Regions from separate parts of the Homo sapiens genome. Here regions 2 and 3 are each linked to region 1. Evidence: promoter capture Hi-C in 16 types of primary human blood cells and fetal thymus (Javierre and others, 2016). All regions are on one chromosome and are shown on one strand. The core of a region is centred on a gene start or on the middle of the fragment in contact, and the rest is flanking DNA. Distances in the headings are between cores, read along the strand shown.

Region 1 (4,501 bases), core at 1,405-3,904:
TTATAAATCATTCTACTCTAAAGACACATACACATGTATGTTTATTGCAGCACTATTCACAATAGCAAAGACATGGAACCAACCCAAATGCCCATCAATGATAGACCGGATAAAGTAAATGTGGCACATATACACCATAGAATACTATGCAACCATAAAAAAGGGTGAGTTCATGTCCTTTGCAGGGACATGGATGAAGCTGGAAACTGTCATTCTCAGCAGACTAACACAAGAACAGGAAACCCAACACCTCATGTTCTCACTCATAGGTGGGAGTTGAACAATGAGAACACCTGGACACAGGGAGGGGAACATCACACACTGGGGCCTGTCGGAGGTGGGGGGCTAGGGGAGGGATAACATTAGGAGAAATTCCTAATGTAGATGACGGGTTGATGGGTGCAGCAAACCACCCTGGCACTTGTATAGCTATGTAACAAACCTGCACATTCTGCACGTGTATCCCAGAACTTAAAGCATAATAAAAGAAGGAAGGCAAGGAAGGAAGGAAGGAAAGGAAGGAAGGAAGGAAAGGAAGGAAGGCAGGCAGGCAGCCAAGAACATGTAAACAAATATCTGTGGCTTTACAAAAACACAGGAAGAATAGATGAGAAATCATGACATTGTTTACTCACACAGGATTGGCTAGAATGTGTGGAACAAAGGAGGGAAGAAAATTCCCTGAGTATACGTTTTCAGATCTTTTTAATATTCTTTAATTTTTTCTTTTATCCGCTTTTAAGTTCTGGAGTACATGTCCAGGATGTGCAGATTTATTACACAGGTAAACGTGTGTCATGGTGGTTTGCTGCACAGGTCAACCCCATCACCTAGGTATTAAGGTCTAGCATCCACTAGCTGTTCTTCCTGATACTCTCCCTAATATTCTAATACCAAATAAATGTAATTAAGCCAGCAAGGATGGGAAGGGGGTAGGGGGTGGGGAAGACTCATATTAAAAGCAAACTCATCTCTAAACCAGAAATAATAGCAATATCTATACAAGTAAATACATGTACTCAGAACAGTGCCTACTACATGTAAACACTGAACAGGTGTTAGCAACATTGCCATTATTGTGTTAGTATATTAGGTACCTGGTGCTACCGGCAAAACCAGTTTATCATCCAACTGTCTCCAGTGTTGCTACTCAAAGTTTGGTCCTCCAGTAGCCTATCAGGATCACCCAGGGGCCTGTTAGAAAGGCACATCTCAGACCCCACCCCAGACCTACTGAATCAGAATCTGCGTTTTTAACGGGATCCGCAGGTGATTCCTATGCACATTAAAGTGTAAGAAGTACTGGGCTACAGACAGGTATGTGACAAAATAATTTCATAGGATGGCAAAGGCCAAGTGGCAAATGAAGGACACCAGAAATGCACGTCCCAGGAGCCCAACTCCTCCTTAGTAAATTACCCTATTAAGATTTGTTTAGAGATGTTCAAAAGCGTGGAGAAAAGCAAATTTGGTTTCCTCAGCTAGGGACGCGGAGAGTGGTCTGGTGCCCTTGAAGAGATCGCCCTCGTGTGGAGTAGGGAGGGAATCTCTAGCCTTTCCTCTCGGATGAAGAACAGCACCAGCGCTCCCAGCCAAAGGCCTGGCCCAGGTTCTGGAGGTGGGGTCTCCTTGGCAGAAGCCTCTGGTGTCTGCAGGCGTGCATTTACAGCTTTAAGACCAAACAGCTAGTCCGCCACGTGTCACTACAGTGTGCACGCGCAGAAATGCACAAAGCAAAAAAAAAAAAAAAGATGCTCTTAATGAACCAACTATAATCCTTGCTAAGGCATAAAGCCAGAGGGAAGTATGTATCTGAAATCATTTTCTACCCCTCACCCTCTTGGAGCCCGGCACTCTGGCTGCGGTGCTCTCTTGTATCCCAGTTGCTAGATGCAAAACAAGCTATTTCCTATCTAATTTTTTTTTTTAAGAGACGGAGTCTCGCTTTGTTGCCCAGGCTGGTCTCAAACTCCTGGACTCAAGCAATTCTCCCAGCTTGGGGTAACGTGTTACATTATTCTACTTAATAAAAAGCAAAAGTTGTTTTATAAATTCTAACTTAAATGCCCAGAAAATAACTTATCATGCATTGCCTTGTCGTGCAATAGTCAATATTTGCAAACCAAGTGTTAACCAAAGGCAGTTCATCAAAGATTTTTGAAAATTAAAAAAAAAAAAAAACTCATACTCACATTGTCCTCAGGATTTCCTGTTTTCGAAATGTTCCTGTACGAATCGGAGTCTCTATAATGATTGTAATTGAAAAGATAAGTCAGGTTTTTTGTGTTTTTTTTTCATTTTAAAATCATAATACGCAATGTTTTCCACTTGAACGCTATACCTTGTGTATTGTGCTTGCTTCAGCCTCGAGCCTCTACTGATGTTCCACCTCAAGGCGACAGGAATGCCACCTGGAGAAACTCCTGGGCGGTATGGGAAGAAAGCCGGTCTCATCAGAGTATATTTGCGGGGATCGACGACCAAGGTGTTAAATTCCAAGCACGCTTTGGAAAGTTCTAGGTGCTTGGGAAGAGATCCGTAGGCGGCAGGGATGCCCGCGCCCCGGCGTCCCAGCGCGGAGGGTGGCGGCGGGGCCTGGCCCTAGCGGGGCGGGGCGGGCTCGGGTTACCGGGAGTCGCGGGGCGCGGCCGGCACTGCCCGCGGCGCCTCCTCCTAGAGCCGCACCTGGAGGCAGCGCGCGCGTCGAAGAGGCAGCGGCTGTGGAGCGCGGCGGGGCGGCTCCGCCCAGGGCAGCCCGGGCTGGTGAGTGCGCGCGGGCGGCCGCGGGGCCGGGGGTCGCGGTCCCTCGGGAGGGGACTGAGCTGAGGCCCGCGGGCCCACCCGAGCAGGGGCCCTCGCTGTCACCGCCTCTGCCCCTGTCTCCCAGGCCCCATGTCGCGCTTTTTCCCTAAACGAACCGGTGACAGGGCTGACCTGCCCGCACTCTGCTGGTCCCTACGCCGGGAAGGAGAAAGTCTCACGAAGCTCTTTCCTTTGCAACCCCTGTCCCCTTGCCCTCTGCAGCTCCACACAGCATTTTTACTTCCCGTTTGCCTCCTCGAATCCCTTCGGTGCTAATCCAGCCCTTCGCCGTTTCCAGTTTGGGTCTGGCCTGTTTGTATCCAAATCGAATTACACAAAACCAGGCCCTCAGTTCTGCCTCTGGCCCTCTTTCCGGAGACGGGCCCTGCCTCCTCCTGTGCCGGGCTGGGCTTGCCCGGCATTGGCCGCCCGGAGCTCCCAGGGAGCAAGGCTGTGGTCCCGAAACTGGGCCCTCCGCTCAGCGCCGGGCAAGGCTCAAACCCCGGGTCTCTGACTTATCCGGTCACGAAGGGACTGCTCAGAGCCTAACAGCCCTAAAATTTGGTATTGGCCCCCTCCCGGGAAATCCTTCTCCCTACCAATCAGGCATCGCGGCAGGTGCTCTGCCATCATAGAGGCTCTGACACGCTGAACTCTCGAAGCTCGCGGCAGTGTTTATTTTTAGGAGAGATTTAGTTGATCGGGAACCAATTGACTTGGTTGACTGCCTCATCTAGTGCGCACCTGGGCCGGGCCCCGCCGGGAAGGCGTGCTGGACGTTCTCAGTGAGCTCCGAGACCTACAGAAGAAACAGCTGCAAGGATCCGATCAGCTAGCTGTGAAGAAAGCCTCAGATACGCTGTGGGGTGGGCAAAATTCTTTTCCTAGCTTCGATGAGTACTGTGGATTCTAGAATTTAAACAACATTCATGGAGACTCTTAAAACAACAAAAAATATCAACTTTTTGCGGGCACAGACTGAGATTTAGCTTTTTCCTATCTGAAAACTGAACAATGTGCACTAGATATAAATGTATTATCTAAAGTTTAGGAATTTACAGCATAGAAATGCAGGGGAATTCGGAGTATGCAATACGAAGTATCAACCTTTTTGAAAATGAAATTTAAAATGTATTTTTGTCAGGCATTCCTTCTAATTACGGTAGTATTGCTTTGTATCAGAAGACTTTCAGGCAAAGGACAGGAGGGAAGAGAGAGAAATTCAAACTAATTTGCATTAGAAAGAAACTTAGGGTGAAGAATTGCCTAGGTAAGGTTGCTATAGCTCATATCTTAAGTGCACTCTTGGAAAGCTTTCTAGTCTATTAGGTAACACCTGAAGCCCCAATTCTCTTATGTAGCATTTCTTTTTTTCTCTCTTTAACTACTCTGAAACTATACAGAGTTACACGTTCCTCATTAATTTATGAGTGAAACCAAAAGAATTGACTCAATCCAACAAGTATTTGAGTGCTTTTCGCATAGAGGCGCTTTGCTAAGAACAGAAGAATGGAAGACTGAGGAAGTTTCTAACAATCAATGGATTGCCTTGTGAGGTGTAGATGCAGGTGTGCACTGCCTATTTAATTGACGATCAAAGTCAGTTGAGTTTTCATCTCATTCTAAATATCATGTGTTGCCCCCTGGTATCTTAATTTTTCTACCGTTGCAGGTAGTCTGCATTTTAGTAACCCAAGTG
Region 2 (4,501 bases), core at 537-3,036, 740 kb before region 1:
GGCACTCATTCTCTCTCCTACTGCCCTGTTGAGTGCTTTCCACCATGATTGTAAGTTTCCTGAGGCCTCCCCAGCCATGCAGAACTGTGAGTCAATTAAACCTCTTTTCTTTGTAAATTACCCAGTCATGGGTATTTCTTCATAGCAGTGTATGTGACAATACAGGGCTCTAATCACTTGGTTGGTTCCTCTGACAACCAGTCCCCATCCTGAAGCTATCTAGGGGCCCGCTGTATTAGTCCATTCTCACACTGCTATAAACATACCTGAGACTGGGTAATTTATAAATTTATAAAGAAAAGGTTTAATAGACTCACAGTCTGTGGGCTGTACAGGCTTCTGCTTCTGGGGAGGCCTCAGGAAACTTGGAATCATGGTGGAAGGTGAAGGGGAAGCAAACACATCTTCACATGGCCAGCAGGAGAGAGAGCATGAAGGGGGAAGTGCTGCACACTTTGAAACAACCAGATCTCATGAGAACTCTATCACAAGAACAGCTAGGGGGAAGTCTGCCTCATGATTCAATCACCTCCCACGAGGCCCCTCCTCCACTGAAAATTTCAAATGAGATATGGGTGGGGACACAGAGCCAAACCATATCACCCATCAAGAAACACCTCATTAGTATAAATTGAGGTATGTTTTAAAAGGACTTATTATGAGTAACAAAAGATACTCCTCTTATCCTTCTCATTCAGGGAATTATGAGGGTTTTTAGAAGCTCTGTGCCAGGAACTGCAGTGAAGATCAAATATATATTTTTTATTATATCACAAATCACACTTTTGTATTCTAATCTTGTAATAGTTTTATTATTCCTTAATTGTTGCTGGGTCTGGGTGTTTTTTTTTTAATACCTTTGTTATAAAATGCTTGAAGATATGATTAGTGTACTATGTTAATCATTATAAGTTATTTTGTGTCCTGTGAACAGGCAACCTTCAAAAGATCCTGTCCCATGATCATCCTCCAGAGTATTCAGCTGATTTCTATGCTGCCTACATTAACATTCTTCTTGGAGTTTTCTACACTGTTTGTCGAGATTTGAAAGAGCTCAGACATCTGGTAAATGAACATTTTGCTTGAATATATATATATGTGTGTGTGTGTGTGTGTGTGTATACATATATGTGTATATATGTATTTTAATGTTTTCCATGTAGAAATGGTATGAGATAGGTTAGAAACTGAAATTTTATTCTGGGAATTTGCATATGGCCTCTAGAGACTAACATACCATAAGAAGGTAGATGTCTGTGGGTTAGTACAAACTTTGATTGTTTGATCTGATCAGAAAAATGTCATTCTCAGATCTTCTTACTCTTCCTTGTTTTTTCTCTAATTGCAGAAAATGCAGAACTCCATAAAAATCAAAATGAGGAATAACAGAAAAGAGATGTAAAAACTTGAGCAGTTTTACAACTCTGTTAATATTTTGTAACAGATTTTGTTCAAGTTTTATGTATGCGGTGATTGAGGTCTAGAATCTAGATGGATTTGAGTATGGTCAGAAGCTTTCATTGCAGGTCTTTCATTAACCACTGACCCTGAGCTGGTAATCTTTGTATAGATGGTTCTTTTTAATTTTTTTTTTTTAACAATTAGAATAGCTGTTTATATTTCATAGACAGTTTGGAAAATGTTGATGTTTAATTTTTCTTTGACCTTTTTTGTTTTAATTGTAGGGATGGGAAAGGAAAGAGACAAGAATTTCTGTTTTCCCTTTTAGAAATCTTCAATTAATTAAGATCTTATCTCCATTTAACAGAAAATAGTAATATATCTGAGGCTGGAAAACAGTCACTTTCAAAGTAACAGATTCTATGTCTCTTAGCACATTTTCTTCACTTTGTTCTTTTTCTGTTTTTGCCCTGAAAAGTATTACTTAGTTTCAGTGTGTGTTTGCGACAGAACACAGAAGGCAATCATTTAAAATTATGCTCACATTTAGTATGTTTTTGAAAGTTTCAGATTTCAGGGCTCCTCTGATTTACATGTAGATTTCAGACATCTTCTCAGCTGGGAAAAAACAAAACAGTTTTTCCAGTTCAAGCTTATCACTAACATTCCTCTAGAAGTTGGATGTCTTGGGATCCCTGGCTTCTGAGGGAAATGATAACACAAGAGACTTACAGAGAGGAGAGGGTCAGGAAAACGCACCTGAGTGAGATGGACTTAGGAGCAGATAATCCTCCTCGGTCTTTCCTGGAAAGTAACTTGCAGTTACCACTCTTTAGCACTCGAATCCTGTGGGAATCTGTGCTGACAGCCATTTCAAAGTAGATTATAAAGTACAAGAAGGAAAAATTTAGGGAAAATATTTATGGGAAAATAAAATGTAAAGAGAGAAATATATATTTAAATGTGGTATTTTTTAAAGTTCTTCGAGTTTCACTGTGGAATGATTTTATTTAGGGTGAGGTTACAGCTTTTTAAAAAATAATATTCATAAATGTGTAGTATGGTTTAAGTCTTATACTACTATTGGTAATAATAGAGAAAAGGATCCTTAAACATTAGAGAAAAATAGCACAATGTTCTTAGTTTTCTCTATATATAGAACATGGAAGAATAAAGATATTCATTTTCTTTTTTTTCTTCAGATAGTGTTGTTTGTGTTTGTTTCAAAGTTTGTAAGTGGCATATTTCTTGAAAGTTTATTAAATCACCTGAAAAATATTCTTTTCAGGGATCTTTTCTGGAAAGATGCTTTATGAATTGATATTTCTGTATTTTTCAGAGGCTAGTTCTATAGGTAGCTTAAGATAGGAGAAAATGAAGTACTACTTTGATATTCATTTAGGTTTGTTTTCTCTAACAAACCTTATGATACTGCCTTTTTAACTGTTATTCATAAATTATTAAACATATTTTAGTGTTTCAACCAAAGAGAAAATCAATACAGTTGCCCCTTGGTATACTTGGGGGATTGGTTCCAGGACCAGTCCCATATATATCAAAATCCTAGCACACTCAAACCCTGCGATCAACTCCGCAGAACCTGAGTGTAAAAAAGTTAGCCCTCCATATACATGGGTTTTGTATTCCCTGAGTACTGTTTTTGATCTGTGTTTGTGATCTGTGTTTGGTTGGAAAAAAAAAAAAATCTGTAGACAAGTGGACCCTCACAGTTCAAACCTATGTCGTTCAAGGGTCAGTTGTTTATTTTGATTAGCCAAATTGTGTACCAGTTGCTGTTAACATTATGACACTTTAGTGTTATTACACCATGCTTAGATCTGAAAATCTAAAATTAAGGTAAGAAAGTTTGGCTAAAGCGAATAATTTCTTTTTGATTCTTCTTCTCTACACTTAGTAGAATTTGGAAGATTTTTCTATTTTAAATCATTGTTTTTTATGAAGTAGAATAGGAAGAAATTATTTTAATGATTTGGTTCTTAGTTTTCTGTTATCTAGTTATATGTTATATAGTTACACATTTATATATATCTTTTTCTGTGCCTTATTGAATTATTTTGATATGAAATACTTGGGAACAAACTAATATATATATATTTTTTTTAAATAAATGGAATTAGTATGTTTTTAACCAGTTTGCTTAAACTGCTGTTCAGTAGAATTCCAGTGTTGATTCATGGAAAACTACTAAGTAGTTATAATTAGTTAATTAGTACTCCTCAAACTTTAGAATACATAGAGTTTCTAGAGAGATCGTTAAACATAGATTCCTGGGTCTCATCCTCAGAGATTCTGATTTGGTATGCCTGAGATGGTGCCAAGAACTTGCATTTATAACAATCGCAGGTAGTGCTGCCAATCCAAATACTTTGAGTCATACGAAACTCAATGATGTTTAGTTTATGAGAATGTTCAGACCTTAGAAAACAACAGTTAATTATTTGTGCTTGAGGTTTTTCATTATATGTTTTATGGTTCTATGTGACATAAATATAACCTAAAAGAACAAATTATGCTTTGTTACTGTAGGGAAGTTCACATTTTTACCCTGCAGTTTTGATAATTTGAATCTATAAAACAAACTAATAATAGATTAACGGGAAAAAAAAGGCATACAAATTTATTTTTTAATTTTAATTTAATTTTAAATTTAATTTTATATTAAGTTCCAGGATACATGTGCAGGGGCGTGCAGGTTTGTTACATAGGTAAAATGCGTGCCATGGTGGTTTGCTGCATCTATCAACCCCTCACCTAGGTATTAAGCCCTGCATGCATTAGCTATTGCATACAAATTTATTAATATGCATATGGGCACAGGAGCCTTACACAAAATATGAGACTCAAAAGGTGGGGGGCAGAAAGGGGGGCCAGCTGGTTCAAATTTTTATGACATCCTGAGGTTACAGAAAGAAAATGGGCTTGGAGCATGGCATAACAGGTTATTGGAGGGAGAGGAGCAAAGACTTGGTTAGGGAAGGCAGTCTTGTGCAAATGAAACCTCATAGGCAGCAACTTTCAGAAAGAATAGATGGTAGCCTGTGCTAAGTTTCTCTGTCACACCTTCAAAGGTGTCAGACCC
Region 3 (4,501 bases), core at 1,217-3,716, 720 kb before region 1:
TTGCTGATTCCTTCTGAAGGTGATCTTGCTGCAAGTCCCACTTCTGACTCCAGATATGTCAACCTAAACAACAGAGAGGGACTCTAAAAGAAAATGATAATCTATTTGAGGATGGGCATTGCAGTGGGAATGCATATGCTGTAGTAAACTCTGCATATTCAGGAAGGTAAAGAGAGGCAAAGGTTTTTAAAGGAAGAATGAGGAGAATTACATAATTGTTTTGAGATAATTATTCTTGGCTACAAGGATCAACAACAAAGGTGGTACCAGTTCGGAGTTTGACAGGCAGTTGCTGGGCAAACATCCTCACAGGATTTTTGTATAAGGTTATGATGGCCTTTGTGCAAGGTTATGGTTTTTTCAGTTTTTTGTGATGGTTCTTTTATCAAGCATTATCCGTGATAACACTTTCTTCGTGGCCCTCCCTGGCTCTACTTGTTGGGGGTTTTAGCACATGTGACTCCATTATGTTACACAATTTGTAACAAAGCCTTTTTTTTTTTTTTTAACCTGGAAAGCTATAGGAAAGTCAGTACTAGCTTTGCCATATTTATGCTAGATATTTGAATGATATAATGAAAATTTGATTTTAAAATAAATATATGAACCGTTATAAATCGACATTTGTCTATTATTAAAATTTCTTAGTAGTGAAACAGCTCAGGAGAGACATGGTGGCACATAGTGTGTGAGAAGAACATGATTTTGACTTCCAGCTCAGCCATTGTCTGCCGTATGTGAACTTAGCAAGTCCTAAAACCTCTAGGCTTTGGCTTTCTCCTCTAACAGTCCTTAGAAGATTTAGATAATGTATCTGAAAATTATTGTAAATATTGAAGTGTCTTATAGATATTAGATTAAGCCTAGATTACAAATCAATATAGGAAACCTAAAAATATCAACACTGTCTGCTTTTCTTTCTAGTCAATTTTTTTTACCATTTTTCTCTCATGAATGCCTTATTCTATCACTAACTATTCCTTAATAATTTTGTTTGATTTCAGTTTAATTAACTGATTAGCCTATAATTCAGGTAAAAATTTGGTAGTTTCTTAATTAGCAGAAATACTACAAAGATACTATTACTCCTTTTCCTTTTTCAGTAACAAAAATTCATTTAATGAGAGTTTTTAGAAATCATAGAATGGAAAAGCTTGTGATCTTCTAAATGTAGGAAAACTTGTTTGCTTGTTAAAATGATTCTTACATAATAATGAAAGGACTTCTAGTCCCATAGGATAATTATGGCCACCTAAATTCAATTGTGTCCACAATATCAATAAAGAGAGCTAATAGAACCACCCATAACTCTTGCCTGCTGTATTAACAGGAGTTAGAGATTGCTACAAGCTTCATTTTATATACCAGTAGTGAAGTAAACAACTGAAACCAACAGGGCCAGCTCTGGAGCTCATGCTGAGGTGAAAAGTCAAACAAAGACTGAAAGGAAAAGAGAAGATTGTTGGGACAAGGGATACGTTGACTAGTAGTGGTGAAATACAAATGAAATTACTTGAAGAAAGAGAGTTCAACCCTGAGTGAGAAAGTATTGAACAGTTCTGAGGCTGGAAGGATTAGAGCACTGGCTACTGGAGAATCAAAGTGACATTTTGTTTTTTGTTTTTTTGTTTTTTTGAGACAGGGTCCCATTGTCTCGTCCAGGCTGGAGTGCAGTGGCAAGATCACAGCTCATAGCAGCCTCAACCTCCCTAGGTCCAGGTGATCCTACCACCTGAGCCTCCCGAGTAGCTGGGACTATAGGCATGCGCCACCACACCTGTCTAATTTTTTGTATTTTTTTTGTTTTAAGAGTATGGGGGCCAGAGTTAGCATGATAGTCTTGGGAAAGTACTGTTTTGAGGAGAGACAAGTAGTTGATTCAGAAGGGTGTGGTATTCCTTTGAGAGTTGGTAATGAAGGAAAAGAATGGAAAGAAAGGATAGAAATTAAAGATTCCTCTCATCCCCCAAATAAAAAAGAAATGACAAAATCAGAAGCTAATCCCTCCTTTTCATAATAGCACCATATATTAAAGAAACTTGACTTCATTATTTTTCCAGAAGGGAGCACTTTAGAATTAAGTAATTGTGCCATTCCGCAACCTTACCCCTGCATTCATAAAGTCACCTGTTATTACTGACCAAGCCAAACATTAGGTATTTCAAAATGAATAAAAGACAACATGGAAAAGCCATGTAAAGGTATTATTTAGGAAGAAACAGAAAATGTGAATAAAACAGTTTAGTTGATGAACATTTCCCCCTTAACACCCAAAACAAAGCAGAGGAAGACTGCAATACCACACCTTTACTTGGTTTAGGTTTGTTTAAAAAGCATTTTCAGGTATGGAAAGCATTCTTTAAGTTTGAAATTCAATAACTTAGAATAAATGGACAAAGAACAGGGGGATGTGAAATAAAAGTTGATCAAACTCAGGAGCAAAGTTCAGGCAATAGTAGTTATCTCAGAAATGAAAATGAAAAAATAAGATATCCAAAGGAAAGTAGATTCAACTGAGAATATAGTAAGAGACATTGAGGAAAGGACTGAAAATAATCAAGAGAACAAAACTAAAAAAAGAGGTAAAAATAATCAGGTAGGATGTGACAAATATGATAGACAAAGAAGATTTAACATATATTTAATTGGAGCTCCTGAAGACAGAAAAGAACAATGGATTGGAGTTAAGATCTAAAATTATAATCCAAGAAAACGTTCCAGAAATAGAAGACCTAGCTTTACACATTAAAACAGTTCATTTTCCCAATTAATCCAGAATGATCAATTCTGAAACTGTACTAGTATATTGTACTGTAACAAATTATCAGAAATTTAGTGATTTAGGACAACACATAGTTACTGTCTTACAGTTTTGTATGTCAGAAGTCTAAAACAGGTCCACAGGGCTTTTCTTCTGGAGGTTCTCAAGGAGAATCTATTTCTTTGCCTTTTCTAACTTCTAGAGGCTGCCTTCATTCCCTGGCTTGTGGTTCCATTCTCCATCTTCTAAGCTAGCAGTGTAGCATTTTCTCTTCTCTCTGACTTGTCTTCCTCTTAGAAGGATCCTTCTGACTCTATTGGGCCTATCTGGATAATGCAGTGTAATGTCTATCTGAAGATCCTTAACTCAGTCACATCTGCTAAGTCCCTTTTACCCCATAAGAATGTATTCACATGTTCTAGGGATTTGGACTTTGGTATCTTTGGAGGCAGAGCCATTATTCAGCCTACTACAGAGACTTCTTGGAAAGCATTTAGACTTTAAAAATAACAGAAAAAAACCTCTGAGCTTTCAGGCAAAAAATAAAAGTCACTTACAAAGGAAAGTCAGTGAAAAAGTGAAACAAATGGATCAACAATTTCAAGAAACTCAAGGAGAAAGGAAGTGTAAGCCAAATAATTTTATGTTCAGTCAAACCTGTCATTGAACTATCAAGGCTAGAGAAAAACAATATTAAACATGGAAGAACTCAGAGAACACTACTCATAAGACATTTCTTAGGACGACCTTGATGTGAAAAAGAGATGACTGGAGAAACTAACAAAAGGATTGATGATGAACATTGAATTTAATTAAGCTTAGCTCCAAACTAAAATTAAGGTGGAAATAAGAGTAGAAGAATAGTATGTAAATATTATGTATTCTGACAAGGTAGGAATATTACAACTTAAAAATTGGGAAAAGAAGGAAAAGAGAAAGGGGAAAATTAAACTTGTTGATTGCTATACAGGTGAGAGATGGGCATCAAAGAATACTTCAAAAGCTAAAACTACTTTTTTTAAAGTATACTCAAAGAAGGCCCACACTCATCCTTATCACTTCCACCCTGTTCTTCATGCAGATTTTGGATATTTAATTGTTCTAATCTGGCATTATTTTTAAATTAGCCCTGTAAATTAGCTCATTTTTAAGAGTTCTGTGAGAGTTTTAGAGTTGGTGAGCACCTTTGCATCAAACTGCCTTATTTTTTTTTATGAGTAAACTATTCATTTTTTCGAAGTCATGCAGCTAAAACTGTCGTAGGGCATTCTTTACTCATTATACTATAGTGTGTTGCCTTATAAATTCAATTTGTCGTGTCATAATCACTTCATATTCTTAATAGTGTTTTGGTTGTTTAACAGTTTTAATTGCAAATAAGTCCAGGATGGGGCAATTAAAATACCTTGAACTCTGCAAGCATCCTACAAGGATTCGACTCGTAGCTCTAGTATTGACTGGCTAAATGTCCTTGGGTGACTTAATCTTTGAGCCTCAGTTTTCTGGTGTGATACCTACTTTGAGGGATTGCTATAGAGTTTAGAAATAGTATATGACAATTGCATCTAATACGGTAACTAGAACATTGGGAGTTTTACCGAGTGGTAGGTGGTAGTATTTATTGGTTTTTTGTTTGTTGTTGTTTTTTTTAAAGACAGGCTCACTCTCGCCCAGGCTGGAGTGCAGTGGCACAATCTCAGCTCACTGCAACGTCCACCTCCCAGGTTCAAGTGATTCTCG

Evidence for each region. The method cuts DNA at HindIII sites, captures the fragments that hold promoters and counts their contacts. A CHiCAGO score of 5 or more calls a contact.
Region 2: a contact is called between a fragment that was not itself captured here and the fragment with the promoter of SLC26A5 in region 1, in 1 of 17 cell types (erythroblasts). The highest score is 6.0, in erythroblasts.
Region 3: a fragment that was not itself captured here is called in contact with the fragment with the promoter of SLC26A5 in region 1 in 7 of 17 cell types (erythroblasts, megakaryocytes, non-activated CD4 T cells and 4 more); the score reaches 10.8 in erythroblasts.

Annotation. Positions count from the first base shown.
Region 1 is chr7:103,444,360-103,448,860 of GRCh38, reverse strand. SLC26A5 (solute carrier family 26 member 5) reads left to right here and starts at 2,654. Exons shown (of 20, transcript NM_198999.3): 1 at 2,654-2,763. SLC26A5-AS1 (SLC26A5 antisense RNA 1) reads right to left here and starts at 3,654. Exons shown (of 4, transcript NR_110141.1): 1 at 2,342-3,654; 2 at 2,193-2,244. RefSeq lists a silencer at 2,579-2,648 and an enhancer at 2,705-3,281. The HindIII fragment of the contact is 4,246 bases long and covers 1-4,117 here.
Region 2 is chr7:104,184,815-104,189,315 of GRCh38, reverse strand. ORC5 (origin recognition complex subunit 5) reads left to right here. Exons shown (of 14, transcript NM_002553.4): 6 at 935-1,065. Among named protein-coding and RNA genes, the nearest start is that of ORC5, 21 kb to the left of the region's middle. The HindIII fragment of the contact is 539 bases long and covers 1,517-2,055 here.
Region 3 is chr7:104,168,989-104,173,489 of GRCh38, reverse strand. The region is part of intron 8 of ORC5 (origin recognition complex subunit 5); the gene reads left to right. Among named protein-coding and RNA genes, the nearest start is that of ORC5, 37 kb to the left of the region's middle. The HindIII fragment of the contact is 2,228 bases long and covers 1,353-3,580 here.